Regions from separate parts of the Homo sapiens genome. Here all the other regions are linked to region 3. The links are contacts of gene promoters, found by promoter capture Hi-C in blood cells and fetal thymus (Javierre and others, 2016). All regions are on one chromosome and are shown on one strand. Each heading gives the region's core, a stretch centred on a gene start or on the middle of the fragment in contact. The rest is flanking DNA. Distances are from core to core; before and after follow the strand shown. Region 1 overlaps GLRA2 (glycine receptor alpha 2). Region 2 overlaps GLRA2 (glycine receptor alpha 2). Region 3 holds the start of FANCB (FA complementation group B).

What was found. Contacts are between HindIII fragments. The CHiCAGO score rates a contact against its expected background, and 5 or more counts as called.
Region 1: a fragment that was not itself captured here is called in contact with the fragment with the promoter of FANCB in region 3 in 1 of 17 cell types (neutrophils); the score reaches 5.2 in neutrophils.
Region 2: a fragment that was not itself captured here is called in contact with the fragment with the promoter of FANCB in region 3 in 1 of 17 cell types (neutrophils); the score reaches 8.7 in neutrophils.

What each region holds. Positions count from the first base shown.
Region 1 is chrX:14,719,858-14,723,839 of GRCh38, forward strand. The region is part of intron 8 of GLRA2 (glycine receptor alpha 2); the gene reads left to right. It also overlaps a transcript of FANCB not described here. Among named protein-coding and RNA genes, the nearest start is that of FANCB, 150 kb to the right of the region's middle. The HindIII fragment of the contact is 1,304 bases long and covers 1,661-2,964 here.
Region 2 is chrX:14,698,636-14,702,332 of GRCh38, forward strand. The region is part of intron 8 of GLRA2 (glycine receptor alpha 2); the gene reads left to right. It also overlaps a transcript of FANCB not described here. Among named protein-coding and RNA genes, the nearest start is that of GLRA2, 170 kb to the left of the region's middle. The HindIII fragment of the contact is 3,669 bases long and covers 214-3,697 here.
Region 3 is chrX:14,870,629-14,874,823 of GRCh38, forward strand. FANCB (FA complementation group B) reads right to left here and starts at 2,441. Exons shown (of 10, transcript NM_001018113.3): 1 at 2,358-2,441. It overlaps MOSPD2 (motile sperm domain containing 2), which reads left to right and starts at 2,793. Exons shown (of 15, transcript NM_152581.4): 1 at 2,793-2,909; 2 at 3,061-3,130. The coding sequence starts at 2,901. RefSeq lists a silencer at 2,531-2,760. The HindIII fragment of the contact is 4,870 bases long and covers 1-4,036 here.

The DNA.
Region 1 (3,982 bases), core at 1,063-3,562, 150 kb before region 3:
TATTCAGTCTTAAAAAAATCAAATCCTGTCATTAATAGTATGGATGAGTCTGGAGGACATTATGTTAAGGGAAATAAGTCAGGCAGAAAAAGAGAAATACTACAATTTCTCATTTTTGGGAGCTGAAAAAGTAGATCTCATAGAGGTAGAGGGTAGAATAGTGGTTACTAGAGGAAGAGAAGGGTAGAAAGGAGTGAGGAATAGGGACAGTTTGATTAACAGATACAGAAGTACAGCTACATAAGAAGAACAAGTTTCAGTATTCTATAGCACTACAGTAAACAATAATTTATTGTATTTTTTTCAAAGAGCTAGAAGAGAGGATTTTGAATGTTATCAACACAACACAGTGATTAAGTTTTGAGGTGATTTATATACTAATTAACTTGATTTGATCATTACACATTGTACACGTGTATTGAAATACCACCCTTACCTCATAAACATGTACAATTATGTGTCCATTAAAATATATTTAAAAATTTAAATGTAGCTCAAAACTCAGGATCTCATCATGTAAGTCAAATGAAGCATCTCAGGTTAAGCATTTTGGATACAGTTAAAAATGAAAACCTGGGAACTAAAGAGACAAGGTATCTGCTCCACTTACTCAACAGACAATATGGAGACATACAGAGGATAACTGTTATAGACTCTTCCATTCAAAAATAGGGGGAACAAGAGGCACACAGCAGTCACTAGTTAACAGGAATTCTGAGACCTAGAAAGGTCCATGTTGGAAGATCCTTGTTTGGGGGATATATTCCTTGGTTGTCCTCTCTAGTTTTTGGGTCTGCTCTCTGGACTCTTATTCTGCTATTTGAAACATCTTTCTTTTTCTATAAGAAGGGGCACTTGTTTGCCACTGAGTAACCTTTTTAGTCTATTTATTGTCTTTAAAAGATTAGGAGTCTAAAGACCTCCTTTCATTTTATACTATCTTTGTTGTTTTCAGTCCAAACATACAATTCCTTAAAAACTGTTGGGGGCAGGGCTGGGCATGTTGGCTCATGCCTGTCATTCCAGCATTTTAGGAGACCAAGATGGGAGGATTGCTTGAGTCCAGGAGTTTGGGACCAGCCTGGACAATATAGTGAGACCCCCACCTCTACAAAAAAATTAGCCAGACATGGTGGCACATGACCCGTCCACCTTGGGAGGCTAAGGCAGGAGGATCACTTGAGTCTGGGTAGTCGAGGCTGCAGTGAGCTGTGATCATGGCACTGCACTTCCAGCCTTGGTGACAGAGTGTGACCCTGTCTCAAAAAAAAAAAAAAAAAAATACTGTTGGGGTTTATATATAAATTTATAATCCACTTCATTAGACAAAAGCTATACTCACAAATATTTTCAAGATAAACCCTGTTTTAGTTAGGAGGATTACGTTTTAGAGATGTATTGCATAGCATGGTGACTATAGTTAATAATAATGTACATTTCAAAATTGCTAAAAGAATAGATTTTAAGTGTTCTCACCACAAAAAATGATTAGTATGTGAAGTAATGGATATGTTAATTACCTTGAGTTAATCATTCCACAACAAAACACTACATTATACTCCATAAATATATACAATTATTATTTATCAATTATAAGCCCTTGTTATCTTAGGCTCCCTGTGAGTATGCTGTGTGGCCCAACACCCTTAATATTCGTAGAAGCTTATTGTTTAGAGGAGACAATCTGTAAGGCATGTTCTTATGATCCTTATAAGACCTATTGCCTGTCTGAAAGAGCTTATCAGGTACTGCTTTAGATATTTCTCAGGTTTTAACAAAGAATCGTACAGTCCCACCCTGTATATGATTTTTTCCCCTGAGGCCTGTTCTGATTTGAGGACCCTTCGCAGGCTGAAAAGACTTATTCTGGATCCTTTACATTTCCTCCAACTTCTACTTGGACACTTAATGGCCTGTTCTTCAGTTCTTTGTCCTCTCTCAGTTTGGTATCAGCAGCTAAAAGCCAAGCAGCATCCTCAGTGCTCTATCTGGAAATCTCCTTAGGTAGATGATGAGGTTTATTAAGTATATTTTCTATTTTCCATGTTACCACAGGAAACAATGTTGGTAAACTTTTCCCCATCCTCCAGCTTTCCACAGCAATTGCCTTTCTTTCCTCCCAGTCTTCCAACAACCTCCTTGAGGGCCTTCCAGCTTCTGCCTGCTGCCTGGTCCCAAAGATAATGCCACAACATTTCAGTTTTTGATACAGCATCAATTATCTGTGTAGCTATCTATTACTGCATAATAAATCATCCAACATCTTAGTGGCTTAAAACGATAACAAGCAGTTCATTATCTCTCACACTTTCTGTGTGTTAAGAATTTGGGAAGATCTCAGCTAGGCAGTTGTGGTTCGGGGTCTCTCCTCTTGGTGCAGTCAGACAGTAACTGGGGCTGGAACAGCTGGGAGTTGGGCAGGCATCATTCTTTCTTCATGTACTCACAGGGCTTTTCCATGTGATTTCTCCACATGGGCTACTTTGAGTTCTTCATAGCATGGTGGTCTCAGGGCAGTCAGACAGTTGACATGGTGGCTCATGGTTCCAAGCACACCAGGATTGGAGCTTCATCACTTTTTATGACCTAGACTTAGAAGTTACTTAGTGTCACTTCCACCAAATTCTGTTGATTAGGAGCAAGTCACAAGCCCACTTAGACTCAAGTGGAGGGGATACAGACCCCATGTCTCAATGGAAAGAGTGTCAATGATAATACTGTTAAGAAAAAAGCATATGGGATGGGAGATATTGTTGTGGCTATCTTTGGCAAACACAATATAATACAGTCTGTGACTTCTATATGACATATGGAAGCATGCAGAGGAGAAAGAAGTGGGAACTGCTTCTCTTCTCTTTGCCTTGCCAACATGCCACTATGCTATCCACAGACCAGTTTGAGAGGGCCCTGCAGAATGAGTGTAGGGGATCCCACCAGCTGACCTAAACCATGGCTACTCCATAAAGCTTCCTTTGGAATACTTAGCTGACATGCAGAATGATACTTATAATTTCATTTTATCCTCAGCATCAGAGCAAAGATTTATTCTGAATCCAAAATTATTTACAAGTATTGCCTTATCTGGGTAAAACTTGAAAAGTATTTAAAAGAATAATTTTAACTGTATTGGCTAATGGCTGATTTTAGCATAAGTCACCTTCAGTATTTTTTGTCTTGCAAACAGTTTGGGGTTGAAAAGAAAGACTGCCAGTCATGCATTAAAATATAACCAAGTGTATGCCTCCAGCTGAGATCTCTCTGAGTTACAGACTGTCCATTGCAATCAATCACCTACCCCATGTATCTATTCGAATGTCTCAAGTGCACCTCAATCGTATTATTTTCCCCAAACTTAATGTGATCCTCTTTTGGTGTCTTCTTTCTCATTGAATGGCATTAATATCCATCTAGTGGTTTAAGCTGGAGGTTAACCTTGACAATTTCCAATCCATCTCTAAGACCTGTTGATTGCCCCTCTATGTCTCTAGTTGGCACATTGCTCTCTACCTATACCACCACCCATTAAATCCAAATCATTATCATCTCTCATCTGGACCATTGCTGTAGCTTTGTAACTTCTTGGATTCACTTTTGCGTTCCTCTAGGCAGTCATCCACATGGCAACCAAAGTGATTTATTTCAATATGCTGATCTGGTTATGTCATGCAATCTCCATTAAAAGCCAGTTATGGCTCCCCTTGGTTCTCAAAATAAAGCTTCATCAGACACTGGTTTACAGGGCCCTATATGATGTAGCCCCTGGTTCATTTCTGAAACATTGTCTCACTCCACACTCCCCCTGTATTCCAGGCCTCAGTTGCATCCCTCAATTGCAGCAAACCCTCCTATCTCAGACATTGCCAAACCCTGCCTTCACCTCTTTAATGCCTCTCATTTTTTAAATCTCTAATGAAATATCACTTCCTAGGGGAAAAGCTTCTCTTATCTGTCAGATTAGACCAGGACCCCATTTAGTAAGCTC
Region 2 (3,697 bases), core at 798-3,297, 170 kb before region 3:
CCACTGTACTCCAGCCTGGGCGACAGAGTGAGACTCTATCTATCTCAAAAAAAAAAAAAAAAAAAAAAAAAAAAGTAAATATTCCCAAGGCAATATGTCATCTCTTTAATTTCCTACTGAGAAACTGACCTCTGAAATAACATACAGGTTGATATTTTAGAAGGTATAACAAAAAACAAGAGCAGATCATCTCCCAAAAAGACAATGGCATTAAGCTTTATTCAGGGAAGGTATTTATTGAGAGAACACCTGAGATTACATTTACATGCATGGGAAGAGTGTCTGGTATTTACTGAGCAATCAAGTTATCAAATGGGGTCACTTTCAAGGAGTGGCCGGGCAATGTGCAACTAGGTGTATTTGCTTTGATTATCTTTTCTAGGTTTTGTAAAGCAGCCACTGTCAATTTTATCAAAACAGAGTTTCTCAGAAACAATCACGCCCAGATCTTCCCTGACAGAACTGGCCAACCCCAGTCTATTAGAAGCTGATGCCCCAGGTCTATGCAATAAAACTCTGTTTTAATGTTATCGCCTCTGCTCCAATAAGAAATATGTGCACCATGTGAAGTTATAACAACTTCTCTACAATGCAGCCTCACCTGCATTTATCTCCCACTTTCATTTTATATCTGGCTGCACCATGCCTTACTTCTGGCATTGTACCTAATTTCAAATGTTTCCAGTTACCCAGATAGCCCTGACTTCTTTTTGTTCAGCTACTAAATAGAAATTGTGGCTGCTTGAGAACATGGTTATGGCATGTGGGCCACCTAATGACAAGTTGCCTTTTACTTATTTTTCTTCTATTTTGTTTTTAATTGACACATAATAGTTGTATATATTTATGGGGTACAATGTGAGGTTTTAAGGTTTTATACATTGTATTATGATCAAATCAGGATAATTACTGTATCAATCATATGAAACACTTATTTCTTCACCAAATCATCTCTTCTAGATATTTTGAAATATACAATACATTATCATTAACGATTTTCACCCAACTGTGCAATAGAAGACCAGAACTTATTCCTCCTATCTAACTGTAACATAGTACCCACTGACTAACTTCTCCTCATCTCTCCCTCCCCCTCATTTTCTCTAGGCACTGATAACCACTATTATACTGTCTACCCCCATGAGATCAAATTTTTTAGATTCCACATATGAGTGAGATCACGTCCTTTGCAGGGACATGGATGGAGCTGCAGGGCATTATCCTCAGCAAACTAATGTAAGAACAGAAAACCAAATACCACTCATTCTCACTTCTAAGTGGGAGCTAATGATGAGAACGCAGGGACACATAGAGGGGAACAACACACACTGGGGTCTTTTGGAGGGTGGAGGGTGGAAGGACAGAGAGGATCAGGTAAAACTAATGGGTACTAGGCTTAAGACCTGGGGTGATGAAATAATCTGTACAATAATCTGTACAACAGACCCCCAGTTACAGACATGACCCTCAGTGTGGGATAGGTGAAATGTGAGAGATGGAGGTAGCGATGTCCATGAGGCAGTCCAGCACTCAGGAGAGAGGACTGGGTTGGACAGACATGCTGAGAAGTCATTAGGATATAGATGGAGGTTAAAGCTATGGAAGTGGATAAGATTACCCAGCAGGAGTGTACAGAGTGAGAAGAGAAGTGGAGGAGAAAGGTTGAGAAAGAGCAGGAAGGGGCAGGGACGGAGCAGGAAGAGGGAATGGAAGGGGAAGGCAGTGTAAGGGAAGGCAGTGTAAGGCAAGGCAGAGGGCTGAGGGCAAACTCCTGTGAGCACCAGCATATCAGAGACAGGCAGGGGGAAAGGAGCCCATGAGAGAGACAGAGAAGGTCAGACGGCTATGTAATCACTCAGAGGCTAGAAAAAGAAACATATTCAGGAAGAAAATTCATAGTATCTAAAGATGTGGAGTTCACATAAAATAAAAGCTAAGAAGCAGCCATGGATTTTAGGAAGTCAGAGGACATTGGTAACCTCAACAACAGCAGGCTCAGTGGAGAGACGGAGGCAGACACAAGATTTTAGGCAGTGTAGTAGTGAAGTGGACAGTGAGGAAGTGAGGACATTGAATGCAGCCATTTTATCCAAGAAAAAGAGGCAGAAGTGGCTGAGGAGGCATATAGGCCATGGATTTTTTTGTTGGTTGGTTGGTTCTTTTGCTTTTTATTTAGTGTTTTTTTTAATGAGCAACTTGAGTACATTTAAATGCTGATGAGAGAGTTGTTTATAGAGAGAATAATATTACTTACAGGAGTTTTGAGGAAAGGTGGGAGAGCATACTTAGGTGGAGCCACTAGCCATACCCAGTAGAAGGTATTCCTTCTGATAACTGGGAGACAAAAGAAGGAATAAGAATAAGGACATGGCAAGTTTGTGGGTGGGTGGGTAGGCGGACAGGATTTTGAAGGAATCCCCACATGATGGCATCTGATTGTTTTCTGTGACACAGGAAACACATTCATTTTCAGAGAATAAAGAGGGAGGTGACAGAGTAGGAGGTGTGAGAACAGTGGGAAAACTTTGAAATGTTTGTGAATTGCGAAATACATCACCAGGAACCCACAGAAGTTTTCTCAAGCAGGCTTAGGGTCCATCGGACGTAGGGGAAATTGGATATGTAGGGGCATCAATGTGCTGGATTCGGTGAGGTTCTCCAGAGGAGCTCAGCAGCCTAGAATAACCAGATGGTGGGTTCCACAATTGATCCAGGCAGGACTGACTGAAATAAAAATGGGCAACCCCTGGTTCAAAAACAATTAAGAATTTCAAGATGGCAACAGCAGAGCATTAAACTAAGCCTAGCACCCCTCTGTGTATGGACCCTGTGTGTCTGCACAGGTTGCATGCCCGTGAAGCCAATCTTGGATCCAAGCTGAGGGTTTTGCCAGACAGGATGGATGAATGGATAAAAATATGAATCACGTGATGGTCCAAGCAGGGTAGAGAAAGGGGGATACTGTAAAGAAGAGATGAGAATGAAAGGAGAATATTTTACACATAAGTGAAATAAATGTAAGCAATAAAATGTGGCAGTTAGCCCACTTATTTATTCTTTATTTGCAATAAAACAGTTAACTCTAGCTTTTAATTTCAATGATTCTTTATATTTCTATAGTTACCAAATTTAGTTGAAGTTCTAGTTTTGCACAGACCTTCTTAAGGGAGTTTTGCTTTACAGATTTTTTGAAGGGAGTTCAATGTTTAAATGAGAAAGAAAACTTGTATCAACTAGTGTCCTTTTTGTGTTGTTTTGTTTACTGGGGTAGACAGGCTCAGACAAATATTTCAGTGCAGAATGTTGTGTGCTGTGGGAAAGGTTTAAGTGCATGATTTAAAGTGATGACTGAGGACAAAGCATCTTCTCCACTTGGTAGTGCCAGGGAGTTGAGCCTTTGTCTGGGTCTTGACACAGGAGTAGAAATTTGCCAGGTCAAAAGGAAAATTAAGAGGATATCCAGGCTGAGGAAACGGTTATGCAGAGGTTCAGATGTTAGAAACGACATGATGCTTTCACTACATCATAAAAAGTTGAGTCAGGAAAGTGCTAAAGCATGGGGCCTAAAAGGAAGGAAGACTTCAGTTGCTCTTGAACTGGGAGCCACCAAAAGGCTTTATAAATGATAGAATGCTACAATCAGATTGGAACTGTGGAAACATCACTCTATATAGAAAGGATCAGATTGGAATAAGGC
Region 3 (4,195 bases), core at 1,191-3,690:
TGCTAACATAAAAATAGTAGGCTGGCAATAAAATTATCATCCTCATCTACTCTTTACTGCCCCCCCTCTTAATAAATATGTTGTTCATTCTTTTTAAATGCTCATAAATCATTTTGGCCCTATAAATGTGACAATTCTTTAAATAAACTATCAGTGTGGTTCCAGATTATCCTAGAAGAGCAGATGACATCCAAAAAGTCTAAGAAACCATATTAACTGTGACCAAGAGAAAGTATCCTTGGGAAAAAAGTAAAATTAAGACACTCAACTAAAATGGCACCTAATAATACTGAACATAATTTTATGAAGATAATAATGATAGATGTTGTTTTTCCAAGACATATGACATTGTTAACCAAAGTAAATTAACTTTCCTACAAAATAGGGCCACTGTTAAAAGTTTTTTTCTCCCTACATAAGTTATTTATTGGGTCCTATACAGAATTGATCTCACCTTTTTCAACATTATCTAATATGCCTGAAATGTGAGTAAATGCGGGAGAATCGTGATCAACTAAATTAGAGGATTTGGGAAGATTACGCTAAAGAAGATTTTTATGTCATATTAAGGACTTATAAATTTCTCATATAAGTAATGATAACCCACTGAAAGACTTCAAAAACAGAAATCACAGGACTGTACTTTTGAGTTATGAAGATCCTGGTGACAGTGTTAAAGGTGTGAGTGAGATCAGACTGGAAAAAGAGCTAACAATTAGAAGAAAATTATGAGTACTTAAATAAAAGGGAGAGATGACTCTGAAGGTAATTTGGCAGTCAACTGAAATGCATATACCCAGTAGTTTCATTTGTAGATATAAACCCAGAGACATAATCCCACATATGAATGAATACATTGCTCTAGAAGCTCACTGTGCTGATATTTGCAATATAAAAAAAGTAAAAACCTCAATGAACACCAATAGGGGAATGAGTATAGATGGACTATCAAACAAGAGTTAAAAGGAATGAATTAGATCTATCTATCTATATATGTGTGTGTGTGTGTGTGTATATATATATATAATCATGGTTAAATTTCAAAAATAAAATGAATTAAAAATTAAGTTGCAGACAAATGTACACTGCAGCATATTATTTATGTAAAACAAATAAAACAGCATTATATATGTTCTATTTACCTACAATGACTACAGTCCCTGAGTGCTTTCTCAAGAAATAGTGCCATGTACTATTTTTTTTTTTTTTCCTGAAGAAACAGTGCCAGGTACTGCTCTAAGCACTTTGGATTAACTCGTTTCTTCCTCACAACATCCTTATGACATAGGCACTGTTACTATCCCATTTTATAGATGGAGAAACTGAGGCAAGGAGTTTCAGGATCTTCTCAAAGGCTTGCAGATAAGAAGTGACAGAGCCAGGATTCAAACCCAGGCAGTATGATCCAAAATAAAAAAATGTAAAACTGTAAACATTTCATGCCAAATTCTGAATGCTGTTGATTCTGGACAAGGAAGTGTCCAGGATAGGTGAGTAGAGGTAGAAGGAGACTTTAGTTATATCTGAAATATCTTTTAAGGATGTAGTCAAACAACGTTTAAACAATGTGTTCATTTTTTCCCATAAAAAATGTAAATATATTTAAAAGTCTAGGACAAAAGATGCTAACATGCCATTCTGTCATGGATGACTACGGTTGATGGAAATATGGGGGACTATTCTTACAACTTGTTTGTAGTTTTCAGTATCTTTCAACTTTAAAAAAGGCAATATTGTATGCGCAACTATTTTCTTTCAATTGTTTTTAACTGACGAATAAAATTTGTTCCAGTCCCTTTAAATCTAAATCTTTCTCAACCTTGACACTATTGACATTTTGGGCTGGATAACTGTTGTGAATTTTCATGTACACTGGAGGATGTTTGGCAGCTTCCCTGGTCTCTATCCACTAGTAGCCAGTGAGCATCTCTTTTGCCCCCGGCCCCTAGCAGTGGTGACTAAAAATGTCTCCAGAGGTTGCCAAAGGTCCCCTGGGTGGTAAAACCGCCCCCCCCACACACACCCCCCCACCCCCCCGGCTGAACACAACTACCTTAATAAGCCGAAACACGCTTTTTTTAACTTTATATAATTATTTGAGATTAAAGATTTCAGAGATATTTTGCTCATTAAGCATCTCACACTCCAAGTTGGAAGGATACTGAAGGGATGAAAAAAACTTCAAGCGAATGTAGCACTTAAAATCCAATTATCATTGCAAGGAATGACAGACCCAGGTCTCGGGATGCCCGCTTCCTTCCCTCTCTCCCGCAATGCGGGGACAAGGGGAGGAAATCCAGCCCCATCGCCCCCTCTGCGAAGTCCTGGGAAGGGAAGACTCGCCAGCCCCATCCTACCTCAACGCAGCGGCAACATACCGGAGGCCCCACGTCGATACGGTATCCATCTGCTCCAAACCTCCCGCCAGCGCGCTGCATCCTGGGAGGCCGGGCGGAGGCTGCGTCGAACGCAGAGGAGGCGGAGCCTAGAAGCCAGCCAGGAGAGGTGGCCAAGGGAGGCTGAGGAGGCGGGGCCCTGGGGAGTGTTGTGAAAGCAGAGAGCCCGCGAGCTCTCTAGGGCGGAGCTCCGCGGGGGAAGCGCCGGCGATCTCGCGGCTGGCGGGGGCGGGACCGCAGTGCGGGGGATGTCGCGGGGCGAGGCCAGACGAGAATCGAATGGGACCTAGGCTGAGGGCCTGGTCCCGCCTCCAGACCCAGGCGTCCGCATTGGATTGGGCGGTGCGGCGGCGCTTCTGTCCGCCTTCCGGTGTCACGCGACCGCCTCCCCCTCCCACCCTTCTCTGTCTACCTCTGGGCGGGACTGCCGGGTGATGAGATACTCGGTCGGCGACGGTAGAACGGGCGACGGCGACAACCGCAATCACATCCACGACGGTGATCATGGCAGAGGTGAGGAGCCTATTGCACCGCCGCTGGCCCCCCGGACCCGGAAGCCGCCTCTGAGGCCCGGGGACCGAGCGCCCGTGTGCAGGTGGGCTGGGTTGAGGGTAAGCGGGTTGATGCAAGTAGTATCTAAGGTCCCATCGTGTCTCCCATCCAGAATCACGCCCAGAATAAAGCCAAGCTCATCTCTGAGACCCGGAGGAGGTTCGAAGCTGAGTATGTGACAGGTGGGTACTCTGTTCCAGGTATTAAGAAAGGTGTGCAGTGAGCATCCCCAACTTTGCTGGAGTGTTTGTGAGTGTATTTGTGGGAGGTGTTAGGGACCCTTTCGACCCTCACAGGAATGATGCTGGGCACGTCTCAAAGGTTTTCCTCTCCATGACAAGCCGTGTGCACTGCTTCAAATGGTCAAGTGGTGTGTCCCATGCTCCCTTTAAAGGGTTAATGTAAGTTGGAAATCGGTTAAGTTTTTAGCATGCCCTCGTGTTTATGGAACTTGCAGGATACTTGTTAGGCCCACAACACGGGTGACATTGTCCAGTCCACGGTTCCACTGCTGGCCTTTCACCAGCAACACTAGCGAAAATGTACCTGGAAACTGCCATAATACTATTGATGTGTACTTAATTGGGTATACAAATTCCTTGGATATTTTGTTTGATTTGGCTTTCATACAACCCAGCATGCTACCCACAAAATAGGCCCTCCAATGCTGGAACAAGTTCTTATCCCAAACTGTATCTTGCAAAGTACCTATGAGTCCAGAATTGATTTATTGGTTGAACATTCTGTGTCCAGATGTCACAGATACTTGAGTTGTCAGGTACTTAACTGAATATTTAATGCTTGTACAGTAATTTTGTAAAACATACGGAATAACTTATTGTAAATATGGAATTAAATAAGGATTTATATGTTGCCTACCTTAAGATTGATTGTAATCCTAACCCTGCCACTACATAGCTTACTTGTCTATTCTGAGCCCGTTTTCATATCTGTGAAGTGCAAATAATAAAGTTAGTAGGATTAAATTTTTTAAAAAAACATAAACCATCTAGCATGTCTTAAAATATAGTGGATTCTCAGTGAATATTTTGCCTCAGTTGTCATTTTGGTTACTGTGAAAGGAGTTAAGCTTCTACATCTTGACTAGTACTCAGCAGAGGTTCCCTGCAACTTTAAACCATCCTAGATTATACATCAGTTGATGACATAGAACAAATATGGAAATCGGTTTCAAATACTTGTCAGTAAATCTTTTCATACCTCCTTGCCAATTTTCTTCACACCCC